Regions from separate parts of the Homo sapiens genome. Here region 2 is linked to region 1. The links are contacts of gene promoters, found by promoter capture Hi-C in blood cells and fetal thymus (Javierre and others, 2016). All regions are on one chromosome and are shown on one strand. Each heading gives the region's core, a stretch centred on a gene start or on the middle of the fragment in contact. The rest is flanking DNA. Distances are from core to core; before and after follow the strand shown.

Region 1 (6,347 bases), core at 2,650-5,149:
CCTGGGGGTGTCCAGGCTCTGGTCAGCTGTGATAGCATCACTGCACCTGGGCCGCAGAGTGAGACCCTGTCTCAAAAAAAAAAAAAATGAATAACCACCTAAAAATAATTTCTCAGAATGATTTTTAAAAAGGTTTTTTTTCTTTTTTCTTTTCTTTTCTTTTTTTTTTTTTTTGAGATGGAGTCTAAGTCTGTCGCCCAGGATGGAGTGCAGTGGTATGATCTTGGCTCACTGCAACCTCTGCCACCTGGGTTCAAGCAATTCTTCTGCGCCACCATACCCAGCTAATTTTTGTATTTTTAGTAGAGACGGGGTTTCACCCTGTTGACCAGGCTGGGCTCAACTCCTGACCTCAGGTGATCCACACATCTTGGCCTCCCAAAGTATTGGGATTGCCAGGTATGAGCCACTGTGCCCAGCCTGAAGTGTAACTTTTGAGGCTAAGTCATAAAAGGCATCATGGCTTCTTCCTCTCTCATGGATCATTCTTTCTGGGAGAAGTTTACCCACCAAGTCCTGAAGACATTGAAGCAACCCTATGGAAAGATCCATGCGGTAAGGAACTAGGCCCCCTGCCAACAGCCATGTGAGTGAGCCATTGAGGAAGTGGATCTCCCAGTGCTGGACAAGCCCTGGCTGACATGCTGATCACAGCCTCATGGGAGATACTGAGTTAGGATCACCACATGGAGGTGGTCCCTAATCCCTGATCAACAGAAAAGGTGGGATAATCAATGTCCATTGTTTTTTGTTTGTTTTTCTTGTTTTTTTTGTTTTGTTTTGCTTTTGATTTTGAAACAGAGTCTTGCTCTCTCACCTAGGCTGCAGTGCAGTAGCACTATCTCAGCTCACTGCAACCTCTGCCTCCCGGGTTCAAGCGATTCTCCTGCCTCAGCCTCCCGAGTAGCTGGGATTACAGGTGCCCACGACCACACCCAGCTAATTTTTATTTTTATTTTTTGTATTTTTAGTAGAGACGGGGTCTCACCATGTTGGCCAGGCTGGCCTCAAACTTGTGACCTCAGGTGATCCACCCACCTCGGCCTCCCAAAGTGCTGGGATTACAGGTGTGAGCCACTGTGCCCCATCTTTTTTTTTCTTTTGAGGCAGAGTCTTGCTCTGTCACCCAGGTCGGAGTGCAGTGGCGTGATCATGGCTCACTGCAGCCTCCAACTCCTGGGCCCAAGCGATCCTCCCATCTCAGCCTCTTGAGTAGCTGGGACTACAGGCATGTGATACCACACCCAGCTAATTTTCTTTTTCTTTTTTTTTTTTTTGAGACGGAGTCTCACTCTGTCACCCAGGCTGGAGTGCAGTGGCGCAATCTCAGCTCACTGCAAGCTCTGCCTCCCGGGTTCTTGCCATTCTCCTGCCTCAGCCTCCTGAGTAGCTGGGACTACAGGCGCCTGCCACCACACCCGGCTAATTTTTTGTATTTTTAGTAGAGATGGGGTTTCACCGTGTTAGCCAGGATGGTCTCGATCTCCTGACCTGTGATCCGCCCACCTTGGCCTCCCAAAGTGCTGTGATTATAGGCGTGAGCCACTGCACCTCCCCACTAATTTTCTTTTAAGAGGAGGGGTCTCACTGTGTTTCCCAGGCTGGTCTTGAATTCCTGGCCTCAAGTTATCCTCCCGCCTCGCCCTCCCTAAGTGTTAGGGTTACAGACATTACCCACCATGCCTGGACAATAAGTGTTTATTGATTTAATCCACCAAGTTTTTGACTAATTTGTTAACAGCATTAGGTAAATAACATATCCACAAATTATCCTGTGAGCAGAGCACTTTAGATATGAATATGATATCTGTATCTCTTTGAATGCTCATGGATAGTTCTTTGCTTCTGTATCATTTCTTGGCTACAGTTCAGATAACTGAGTTTATATGACATGATCTCTGAATCCATAAACTGTAATTGTGTCATCTCAGTGCCCCAAATATGACAGTCATGGCAGTGTGCACATTTTGGACACTGTTCTGTGTTGGTTAAGGTCCAGTTTCTGCCAGGTGTGGTGGCTCACACCTGTAATCCCAGCACTTTGGGAGGCTGAGGTAGGCAGATCACTTGAGGTCAGGCGTTAGAGACCAGCCTCACCAACATGATGAAACCTTGTCTCTGCTAAAAATACAAAAATTAGTCAGGCGTAGTAGCATGCGCCTGCAATCCCAGCTACTCCAGAGGCTGAGGCAGGAGAATTGCTTGAACCCGAGAGGCAGATATTGCAGTAAGCCGAGATCGCACCACTGCACTCCAGCCTGGTGAGAGCGCCAGACTCCCTCTCAAAAAAAAAAAAGGTTCAGTTTCTGTTGTTTTGCTATGCACCCAGGACCAGGACTTGGTCATCTCACTCATGAGTAACCAGCTTCTGTGAAAACCAGCTGATGTTGAAACACACACATTCACCTACAAAACCACGGTGTTATTTTACAGCAAAGGGAGTAGTATGTTCTTAAGACCCTTAATCCCTCCATAAATGGTTAGTCATCTGTAAAATAGTGGTAACTGTTTCCACTTCATGGGGTTTTGTAAGAATTACACAACTAATACTAATAAAGTTCCTAGTGCCTCACACACTGTACCCAGTAACTACTAATATTATTATCCCCTAGGATTATTATTACTCCTAGTATTGAAGACATGTTACTTTAATCACCTGAGTGCCTTTCTCTCCATTGCTCTGTATTTTTATTTTATTTATTTATTTATTTTTTTGAGACAGAGTCTCGCTCTGTCACCCATGCCGGAATGCAGTGGCAGGATCTTGGCTCACAGCAACCTCCACCCAGATTCAAGTGATTCTCCTGCCTCAGCCTCCTGAGTAGCTGCAACTATAGGCGCGGGCCGCCACACCCAGCTAATTTTTGTATTTTTAGTAGAGGCGGGGTTTTGCCATGTTGGCCATGCTGGTCTTGAAGTCCTGGCCTCAGGTGATCCGACCACCTCGGCCTCCCAAAGTGCTGGGATTACAGGTGTAAGCCACAGCGCCTGGCCAGAGACCAGGTCTCTTCAAACAAAAAAACAAACAAAACCCCTAAATATTGACAATGTCATCTGTGGATTCTACCCAGGAAATAACCCACATTAAAATGATGGTTTGTGAGGGTCGGCAGGGGTATAGTGTATTTCATCCAAAAACATAACAAATGTGTGATCCAATTATAATAGCAATTATGGGAAAAGCTGTCGGTGACTGATAAGGAGTTATAAAAGAAAAGACTCAAATTTACACAGGCTTTTCAAAAGATCATAATCCTGCTATTGGAGGTGGAAGTCTTCTAGACACTAACAAGGTGGAGAGAAATCTCCATGTGGAGGCCCAGATTAAACATCTCCCATCAAAGTGGAACTCGTCAAATGTCCTAAGACACCTAAGGCCGTCCCCAGGCGCCCTGACAATAAAAGGTAACCAGAACACGAGAGAAATTACTCTGGGAGTACCTTTCACATTCAAGGTGTGCAGTAGGAAATTTATAAATTGGCATCTGGCTCGTCCATTCATTTCTCATTGGTGTGGTTCACGTGTGCTTGCAAAGGTCAGACTTCTGCCCTTCGAATGTCCTCTCTCCCTCTCCCACAGAAAACACCCACATGTGGGTCCTTGTTTAAAGCAGAAAGTCCTAGTCCTTAGCTTTTAGTGAGGTGGATGTCATCAGGCCTGGGTTGGCATCCTGTTTTTTACCATGGCAAGTCATATGCGCCCTTAAGCATTCCTGCTTTTGGTCCAAGCTTCCTGCGTGGGAATACTGCGGTCCTCCTTTCAGGCAGCTGTGAATGACAAACGGTCGCTGGCTGCCGTGACACCCATTGTCCCGCGAGAGTGCCCTAGCTGGGCCCCAGTGCACTCGAGGCGGTCCCTGCTCGGGTGCCCCTCCCACAGGCAGGCGCCGTTGCCGACCAAACGCCCAGGTTCACCCAACGCCAGAGGCTCGTCCTCAATTCCCGCGAGGCCCCCGGAGGTGCTGGGGTCCCTGCAGGGCCGGGCCACCTGCCGTGGAGCTCAGGCCGCGCCAGAATCGGATCCGGGAAGCTGCGCGCCATGAGCAGCTCCCTGCGGCCGGGCCCCAGCCGCTGGCGGCGGGCGGCCAGCATCGTCCTGGCGGCTGGCTGGTCGCGCCCGGAGACCGCCACCCCGCCGTCGCGCCCGCCGCCGGCCGAGGGCTTCCGGCTGCTGCTGCTGCAGCGCTCCCCGCACCAAGGCTTCATGCCGGGCGCGCACGTCTTCTCCGGCGGAGTGCTGGATGCGGCCGACCGCTCGGCGGACTGGCTGGGCCTCTTCGCGCCGCACCACGGGCCGCCGCGCTTCGGCCTGGGCCCGGCGCCATTCAGCCGCACCGCTTTCCCGTCGCTGCCCGACACCGATGACCACAAGACCGACAACACTGGGACGCTGCCTGAGGACGTAGCCTTCCGCATCTGCGCCGTGCGGGAGGCCTTTGAGGAGGCGGGCGTGCTGCTGCTGCGGCCCAGGACTTCCCCACCAGGCCCAGCACCCGGGCCTGGCCTCGCCCTGGAGCCACCGCCGGGCCTGGCCTCCTGGCGCGACCGCGTGCGCCAGGACCCGCGCCACTTCCTGCGGCTGTGCGCCCACCTCGACTGCACACCCGACATCTGGGCGCTGCACAACTGGAGCGCCTGGCTCACCCCTTTCTTGCGGGGCACCACTCGCCGCTTTGACACGGCCTTCTTCCTGTGCTGCCTGCGCGAGCCGCCGCCCGTCTACCCCGACTTGGCGGAGGTGGTGGGCTACCAGGTAAGGCCTGCTCAGGGCCTTGCTGCGGACCGCCAGGACGTGAGAGGGAGGACCCCTCCCAGCGGCCCAGGCCCCCAAGGGACCCCCGCATAGGCCAAGCCCAGAGAGATTAAGCAGCAAGGAACGCTTAGACGGGCTGGAAACTCTCACCCCTGTAGACCAAAGCCATGCTCTTGGTGAAGTGCTCTCTGCTTTCCTAGGCTTTGGGGTCTCAAGGCCTGGAGCCTGTCTCTCCACGTGGTTCCTCCAGCGTGGCCACTGTGTAAGCACTTGTACATGTGTAGACATAGTACATCTCCACAGCCGTTTAATTTGGTTTTCTTGGAGAACAGACTTAATATGATCCAGTCTTCCTATTTTTATTTATTTTTGGTACAGATGGGGGTCTTGTCTCTCTGTGTTGCACACCCAGGCTCGTCTCCAGCTCCTGGTGTGTCCAGAATTGGTTCCTTCCAGTGGGTTCTTGGTCTCGCTGACTTTAAGAATAAAGCCGCGGACCCTCGAAGTGAGTGTTACAGTTCTTAAAGATGGTGTGTCCAGTTTCTTCCTTCAGATGTTCAGATGTGTCTGGAGTTTCTTCCTTCTGGTAGGTTCGTGGTCTCGCTGACTTCAGGATTGAAGCCGCAGACCTTCGCAGTGAGTGTTACAGCTCTTAAAGGTGGTGCGTCAGGAGTTGTTTGTTCCTCTTGGTGGGTTTGTGGTCTCGCTGGCTTCAGGAGCGAAGCTGCAGACATTTGTGGTCAGTGTTACAGCTTATAAAGGTAGTGCGGACCCAAGGAGTGAGCAGCAGCAAGATTTATTGCAAAGAGCAAAAGAACAAACCTCCCACAGCGGAAGGGGATCAGAGCAGGTTGGGTGCTGGTGGCTGGGTGGCCAGCTTTTATTCCCTTATTTGGCCCTGCCCATGTCCTGCTGATTGGTCCATTTTGCAGAGTGCTGATTGGTCCATTTTTACAGAGTGCGGATTGGTGCGTTTACAAATCTTTAGCTAGACAGAGCACTGATTGGTGCGTTTTTACATAGTACTGATTGGTGCATTTACAAACCTTTAGCTAGACACAGAGCACTGATTGGTGCGTTTTTACAGAGTGCTGATTGGTGCATTTACAAATCTTTAGCTAGACAGAAAAGTTCTCCAAGTCCCCACTGGACCCAGGAAGTCCAGGGGCTTCACCTCTCAATCCCGCCTCTAAACAGGGCACCCCATCTGCTGTTGGGAATTGGGCAATGACTGCTCTAGCTACTTCCTGCTGGACAGGGGCAAAGAAGGGGCCCTGCAGTTGTAGTGTCCTCCAGAGGGGAACTCTCTAGGCCAGTGAAAGGGCCAGTGGGTCGGTCCAGGGGTCCTCGGTAGAAGTTGTTAGTTGAGCTCATTTGGGTTTCCGTTTGTAAGACCATCTGTAGTTTGATGGCCTTGATTCTAGAGGAAACAAATTTGACAAGGAGGTTAAAAATACAGGGCCCGAAGGCGAGTAATAGTAAAACGGCTGTCACAGGATGTAGAAAGGGGAGAAGCCATGTTGCCCAACTCCAGAGGTTGGTATAAGAGTTTGAAAGGCGTTGTCTGATTTCAGAAACCTTTTCCTGTAAATGC
Region 2 (6,537 bases), core at 2,903-5,402, 420 kb after region 1:
CCAAGGTGGGATGATCTCTTGAGCCCAGGAGTTGAGACCAGCTTGGGAAACATGGCGTAATCCCGTCTACAAAAAATACAAAAAGTAGTCGGGCATGGTGGTGTGTACCTGTGGTCCCAGCTACTCAGGAGGCTGAGGTGGGAGGATCACTTGAGCCTGAGAGGTGGAGGTTGCAGTGAGCCATGATCACACCACCGTACTCCAGTCCAGGTGACACAGCGAGACCATGTCTCAAAAAAAACATAGGAATTGGCCAGGCGTGGTGGCTCACGCCTGTAATCCCAGCACTTTGGGAGGCCGAGGCGGGTGGATCACCTGAGGTCAGGAGTTTGAGACCAACCTGGCCGACATGATGAGACCCTGTCTCTACTAAAAATATAAAAAATTAGCCAGGCATTGTGGCACATGCCTGTAGTCCCGGCTACTCGGTGGGGATGAGACAGGAGAATTGCTTGAACCCAGGAGGTTGCAGTGAGCTGAGATGGTACCATTGCACTCCAGGCTGGGCAATAGAGCGAGACTCCATCTAAAATAATAATAATAATAAGAAGAAGAATCTCAATTTTTATCACTGTCTAGTCCACAGGGACATATTAATATAAATGAAACACTAAACATAAAATCCTCATCCCCAATTATGTAAATTTGTGTTATTGAAATGTATGTACAGAGAAACGTAAATGTGGTTGTCTCATGGCTCTTTTCATCTCTTCTAATTACTGTTTTTATTTAGGTTCAGCTACTTCAGTGTTAGAATTTCTGTCCCAAAAAGACAAAGAGAGAATCAAAGAAATGAAGCAGGCAACTGACCTGAAAGCAGCTCAGCTCAAGGCCAGGAGTCTGGCCCAGAACGCTCAGAGCAGCAGAGCCCAGCTCTCCCCTGCAGCGGCTGCTGGGCACTGCTCTTGGAACATGGCATTAGGTGGTGGGACGGCCACCTTAAAAGCCAGCAACTTCAAGCCTTTCGCCAAAGATCCGGAAAAGCAAAAGCGATACGACGAGTTCTTAGTACACATGAAACAGGGTCAGAAAGGTGGGTGCTGGGCCTGGGTGTCCCAAATCTCGGCCCGGGCGGGGTCATATTCTCACTGTTCTCATCCTAGACCCATATTTACAGTTGAGGTATCCTGTTCTGTCAGTGTTTTTGCTTTATCCTGCTGCAAATAGTGCAAAGGTTTCAGGCCTTGGCTCTTGACCTCAGAAAGCAAGAACAGTTGGCTTATGTTCCTCCATATCTCAGGCCAAAGCTAGCTGTTTAAGTAGAGAACACAGCTGGCGGTGGCCGGTACTTACAGGCCGTTTGGTGTTTGCAAGTGCTTGACTGCTACAAGCATTGCATTCACATTTCATATCAGCATCATCTTCCACCTCATCCGAAGATCCTAACCATCCATTCCTGACTCATAGTCTAAAATATGACTTAAAACAATAGTTAGCTATTGAACCGTTACAGAGGGAAAACAATCACTTTGTGATCTGTGAAGTAAATAGGGCAAGAATGAGGCAAGAATGAGGAAAGGGGTTGCTGTTGTATGCAGTAGTCCTCGTGAGAGGTTATCAGTAAATTACAGGGTTGTTTTTTAAAAACAGATCTTTGCGGAATGTAAAGTCTATTTACTGTGCCTTAACTCTCTACTAAGAACCTACATCACTAATGTTTATTTGCTTTAAAAAAAAAAAACGGTTAGTGAAAGAGTGTTTTTCTGCCAAAACATAGGGATGTGGTTGAGGTGAACTTATCACTGCCTGGGAGTGGTGACAAGTTCCTTACTGCTGAAGATTTAACCAACCATTAGCCTCTCAAATGGTTTTCTCTGTTATGTTTGGTAGACAGAATTCAATAAAAGCATCATTTTGGCTGGGGATGGTGGCTCATGCCTGTAATCCAAGTACTTTGGGAGGCTGAGATGAGGATCGCTTTAGCCTAGGAGTTCAAGACCAGCCTGGGCAACATAGTGAGATCCTGCCTCTACCAAAAAAAAAAAGATATATATGTATATATAAAATATATTATATATATATATACACACATCATATTTTATTTATTTTTTTGAACGGAGTCTTGCTCTGTTGCCCAGGCTGGAGTGCAGTGTCAGGATCTTGGCTCACTGCAATCTCAGCTCACTGCAACCTCCACCTCCCAGGTTCAAGTGATTATCCTGCCTCAGCCTTCTGAGCAGCTGGGACTATAGGTATGTGCCACCACGCCTGGTAATTTTTTGTTTCCCGTCTCTACTAAAAATACAAAAAATTAGCCGGGCATGGTGGCGGACGCCTGTAGTCCCAGCTACTCGGGAGACTGAGGCAGGAGAATGGTGTGAACGTGGGAGGCGGAGCTTGCAGTAAGCAGAGATCATGCCACTGCACTCCAGCCTGGGAGACAGAGTGAGACTCCATCTCAGAAAAAAAAAAAAAAAAAAAAAGAGAGATGGGGTTTCACCATGTTTGCCAGGCTGGTCCCGAACTCCTGACCTCAAGTGACCCACCCGCCTCGGCCTCCCAAAGTGCTGGGATTACAGGCATGAACAACTGCGCCTGGCCTAAATTTTTTTTAAAAAAGCACAATTTTGAAGGAAACAGCAATATTACCTGCCAAATACCTCACCATTCCCATAGTCATAAAAACAAGGATAAGGACTTATGAAATATACAGGGATACAGTGGTGCCCAGCAGATGTTCTCTTGTAAGCCCCATGTTTTCCTGAAAAGTGAAGCTGCTTCTTGTTCTCTGCCCCCGCAGATGCTCTGGAACGCTGTCTGGACCCCAGCATGACAGAGTGGGAGCGAGGCCGTGAGCGGGATGAGTTTGCCCGGGCGGCCCTGCTGTACGCATCTTCCCATTCGACCTTGTCCTCCAGGTTCACTCACGCCAAGGAGGAGGATGACTCAGATCAGGTTGAAGTCCCTCGAGACCAAGAGGTCTGTTGTCACCATGTCCCTTACCTGGTGAACTTTAATATTAAAGCACTGCCTAGCCAAAATAGTTTTTTCCTTTTTTTTGAGACGGAGTCTCTCTCTGTCGCCCAGGCTAGAGTGCAGTGGTGTGATCTCGGCTCACTGCAGCCTCCGCTTCCTGGGTTCAAGCGATTCTCCTGCCTCAGCCTTCCAAGTAGCTGGGATTACAGGCGCTCGCCACAACAGCCATCTAATTTTTGTATTTTTAGTAGAGATGGGGTTTCACCATATTGGCCAGGCTGGTCTTGAACTCCTGACCTCAGGTGATCCACCCGCCTCGGCCTCTCAAAGTACTAGGATTACAGGCATGAGCCACCATGCCCGGCCGAGCCAAATATTTTTAATCCCTTGGTGAGAAGATCAAAATATACATGTATAGGAGAATAGGAAACCATTTTATGCCTTAGTTTCCAATGTACTGGAGCATAAATGTTATAGCACAAACTTTTTTCACAGTTCTAGAAGATTGCTTGAAAATTTTAAATGGGAGAGCAGTCAGGTCAGTGGTGCGGCCACTTGATGGAACAGAATGCATGTCTTTTTCCAGAATGATGTCGGGGATAAGCAGTCGGCTGTGAAGATGAAGATGTTTGGGAAGCTCACCCGAGACACGTTTGAGTGGCACCCTGACAAGCTTCTATGTAAGAGATTTAATGTCCCTGACCCTTATCCAGAGTAAGTTGGATAAACCTTTACATCAGTACAAAATGTATTCTTGATATTAAAGCTAATTTTCCCCTTACATACTCATATAAATTCTTATTTTTTCTACATGAACTTATTTGCATATCACTGGATATACAAATCTACACATTTTATAGATTTGCTTTGATAAATTACTTCTATAATTTGTTACTAAAACAAAATCTGGATAGCAAACTTTATTCCATATTGAAGCTATGAAACTCAGATATGTCAAGTTACAAAAGCATTATGCCTCTCTCATTTGCCACCTTCTTGTTGCTGCTCATGTGGTTTACATTTATAATGTTACTTATGTTTTTAAATTATCATTATAAAAGTTAAACACTTTCTTATTTGATTAATAACACTTCAAGAGGTGGGGTGTGGTGGTGCACACTTGTAATCCTAGCTTGGGAGGCCAAGGCAGGAGGATCGCTTGAGCCCAGGAGTTCGAGGCCAGCCCGGGTAACATAGTAAGACCCCATCTCTAAAAAATCAAACAAACAAACAAACAAACAGAACACTTCAAGATAGTAGGCCGGGTGCAATGGCTCACGCCTGTAATCCCTGTATTTTGGGAGACTGAGGCAGGCAGATCACTTGAGGTCAGGAGTTCAAGACCAGCCTGACCAACATGGTGAAACCCCGTCTCTACTAAAAATACAAAAAATTAGCTGGGCGTGGTGGTGCGTGCCTATAGTCCCAGCTATTTGGGAGGCTGATGCAGGAGAATTGCTTGAACCTGGGAGGCGGAGGTTGCAGTGAGCCAAGATTGTGCCATTGCACTCTAGCCTGGGTGACAAGGCGAGACTCAATCTCAAGAGAAAAAAAAACAAAACAAAAAGATAGCATATGTGGTCAAACCAGAGACTGTCAGAAACTTTAGGTATATTTTTATCAGTGGAGCTTTTCCTTAATGGAAATCCATTTTGAAAGTTAAATTCTTGTCCTTATCATAATAAGGAAAATCTCATGGGACCTAAAATCAGTCACCCAGATTCTCGAACTGCTTTGAGAAGTGAAAGCATCTTAGGAGACTTTTTAGTCATGCAGAAGAGGTGGAAAACTTGAGATGGAAAGCTTTTCAGGAGGTGGATTTTGTCCTACTGGTTGTTACTAAAATGATTCTTTTTTCAATTCCCAGTTCAACTTTAGTTGGCTTACCAAGAGTGAAGCGTGACAAGTACTCAGTCTTCAACTTTCTGACGCTCCCAGAGACAGCTTCCTTGCCCACCACTCAAGCATCAAGTGAAAAAGTATCACAGCACCGAGGTCCCGACAGTGAGTAGGGCGTCCCCGGGGTCTCTGATTGACCAGGGCCTCAACCCCTAGCCTGTAGGAAGACAGAATTAAAGGGTAGTTTAGTCCTAACAATGTGAATGGTGCATATTCTCCCTCCATTGAGGGAATTACTCTTACTAATAACTTAGCTCATGTTGTAATGGTCCAGATGTTTACTCTTTGGGGTTGGGGCTCTGTCTCTGCCTCTGCCACCTACCTCCCCAGGACCCTACACAGTGCCAGGCCCCTAGTAGGCACGCTGACATTCTGAGTGAATGAAAGAGCAGTGGTGAAGAACTGGCCTTTTCCTTGCTAATGCTGGAGTTTATATCTATGTCCTGCCTTTCAGAATCAAGAAAACCATCCAGATGGGATACCTCTAAACACGAAAAGAAAGAAGATTCCATTAGTGAATTTTTAAGTTTGGCTAGATCAAAAGCCGAGCCACCTAAACAACAGTCCAGCCCCTTAGTAAACAAAGAGGAAGAGCATGCACCAGAATTATCCGCAAATCAGGTATTTGGGGCTTCCAGATTCTCTTTGCCACGCTGAGTGTGGCCCTTGCTTTTCTCTTTGGTGACACTTTCTCCTCGTGACTCACCAGCAGAGGCAGCCAACTATTGATCCATTTCCCCTTAAAGGCCATTTGGCTTGTTTCTAACTTTTGGCTATAACAAGTAAAGCTGCTGGGAGCATTCATGTGCAAGTTTTTGTGTGAATATAAGTTTTCATTTCTGTAGAGTACAAACCTAGTAGTGGGAATCCTGGAAAATATGTACATGTATATTTAACTTTATAAGAAGCTGTCAAACTGTATTCCAAAGTTATTTTTGCCTTATGTATTTTGAAGTGCACTTCTTAGGTGTATATACATTTAGGATTGCTATTTCTCTCTTTTTTTTTTTTTTTTTTTTTTTGAGATGGAGTCTTGGTCTGTCCCCCAGGCTGGAGTGCAGTGGCATGATTTCGGCTCACTGCAAGCTCTGCCTCCCCTCCCGGGTTCAAGTGATTCTCCTGCCTCAGCTTCCCAAGTAGATGGGACTACAGGTGCGCACCACCATGCCTGGCTAATTTTTGTATGTTTAGTAGAGATGGGGTTTCACCATGTTGGCCAGGCTGGTCTTGAACTGGGATTGCTATTTCTTTTCAGTGAATTGATCTTTTTTTTTTTTTCTCTGACACCGGCTTTTACTCTGTGCCCAGGCTGGAGTGCAGTGTTGTGATAATGGCTCACTGCAGGCTCGAACGCCCAGGTTCAAGCAATCCTGCCTCAGCCTCCTGAGTAGTTGGGACTGCGGGCACACACCACCATGCCTGGCTAATTTTTTTTTTTTTTTTTTTTTTTTTTTTTTTCAGAGAAAGGGCCTTGCTATGTTTTTCCAGGTTGGTCTCAAACTTCTGCTCTCAAGCAGTCCTCCTGCCCTGGCCTCCCAAAGTGCTGGGATTACAGGCGTGAGCCACCATGCCCAGTTGACCCTTTTAACATTATGTAATATCATCTTTATCCCTGGTAATTTTCTTTAGTGTTTGCGTAGTATATATCTTTTTCATCTTCTTTTTAACACATCTGTTTCATTATATTTAAAGTGGGTTTCTTTTTTTTTTTTTGAGATGAAG

Evidence for each region. The method cuts DNA at HindIII sites, captures the fragments that hold promoters and counts their contacts. A CHiCAGO score of 5 or more calls a contact.
Region 2: a contact is called between a fragment that was not itself captured here and the fragment with the promoter of NUDT19 in region 1, in 2 of 17 cell types (erythroblasts and megakaryocytes). The highest score is 7.6, in erythroblasts.

Annotation. Positions count from the first base shown.
Region 1 is chr19:32,687,922-32,694,268 of GRCh38, forward strand. It overlaps NUDT19 (nudix hydrolase 19), which reads left to right and starts at 3,900. Exons shown (of 3, transcript NM_001105570.2): 1 at 3,900-4,753. The coding sequence starts at 4,040. It overlaps NUDT19-DT (NUDT19 divergent transcript), which reads right to left and starts at 4,375. Exons shown (of 2, transcript NR_186320.1): 1 at 3,442-4,375. LOC124904690 (a long non-coding RNA gene) reads right to left here. Exons shown (of 2, transcript XR_007067226.1): 2 at 5,044-6,173. RefSeq lists a silencer at 3,863-4,272. The HindIII fragment of the contact is 6,189 bases long and covers 3,728-6,347 here.
Region 2 is chr19:33,108,984-33,115,520 of GRCh38, forward strand. It overlaps GPATCH1 (G-patch domain containing 1), which reads left to right. Exons shown (of 20, transcript NM_018025.3): 11 at 734-1,033; 12 at 2,741-2,919; 13 at 3,503-3,630; 14 at 4,784-4,920; 15 at 5,270-5,436. Among named protein-coding and RNA genes, the nearest start is that of WDR88, 20 kb to the right of the region's middle. The HindIII fragment of the contact is 1,130 bases long and covers 3,588-4,717 here.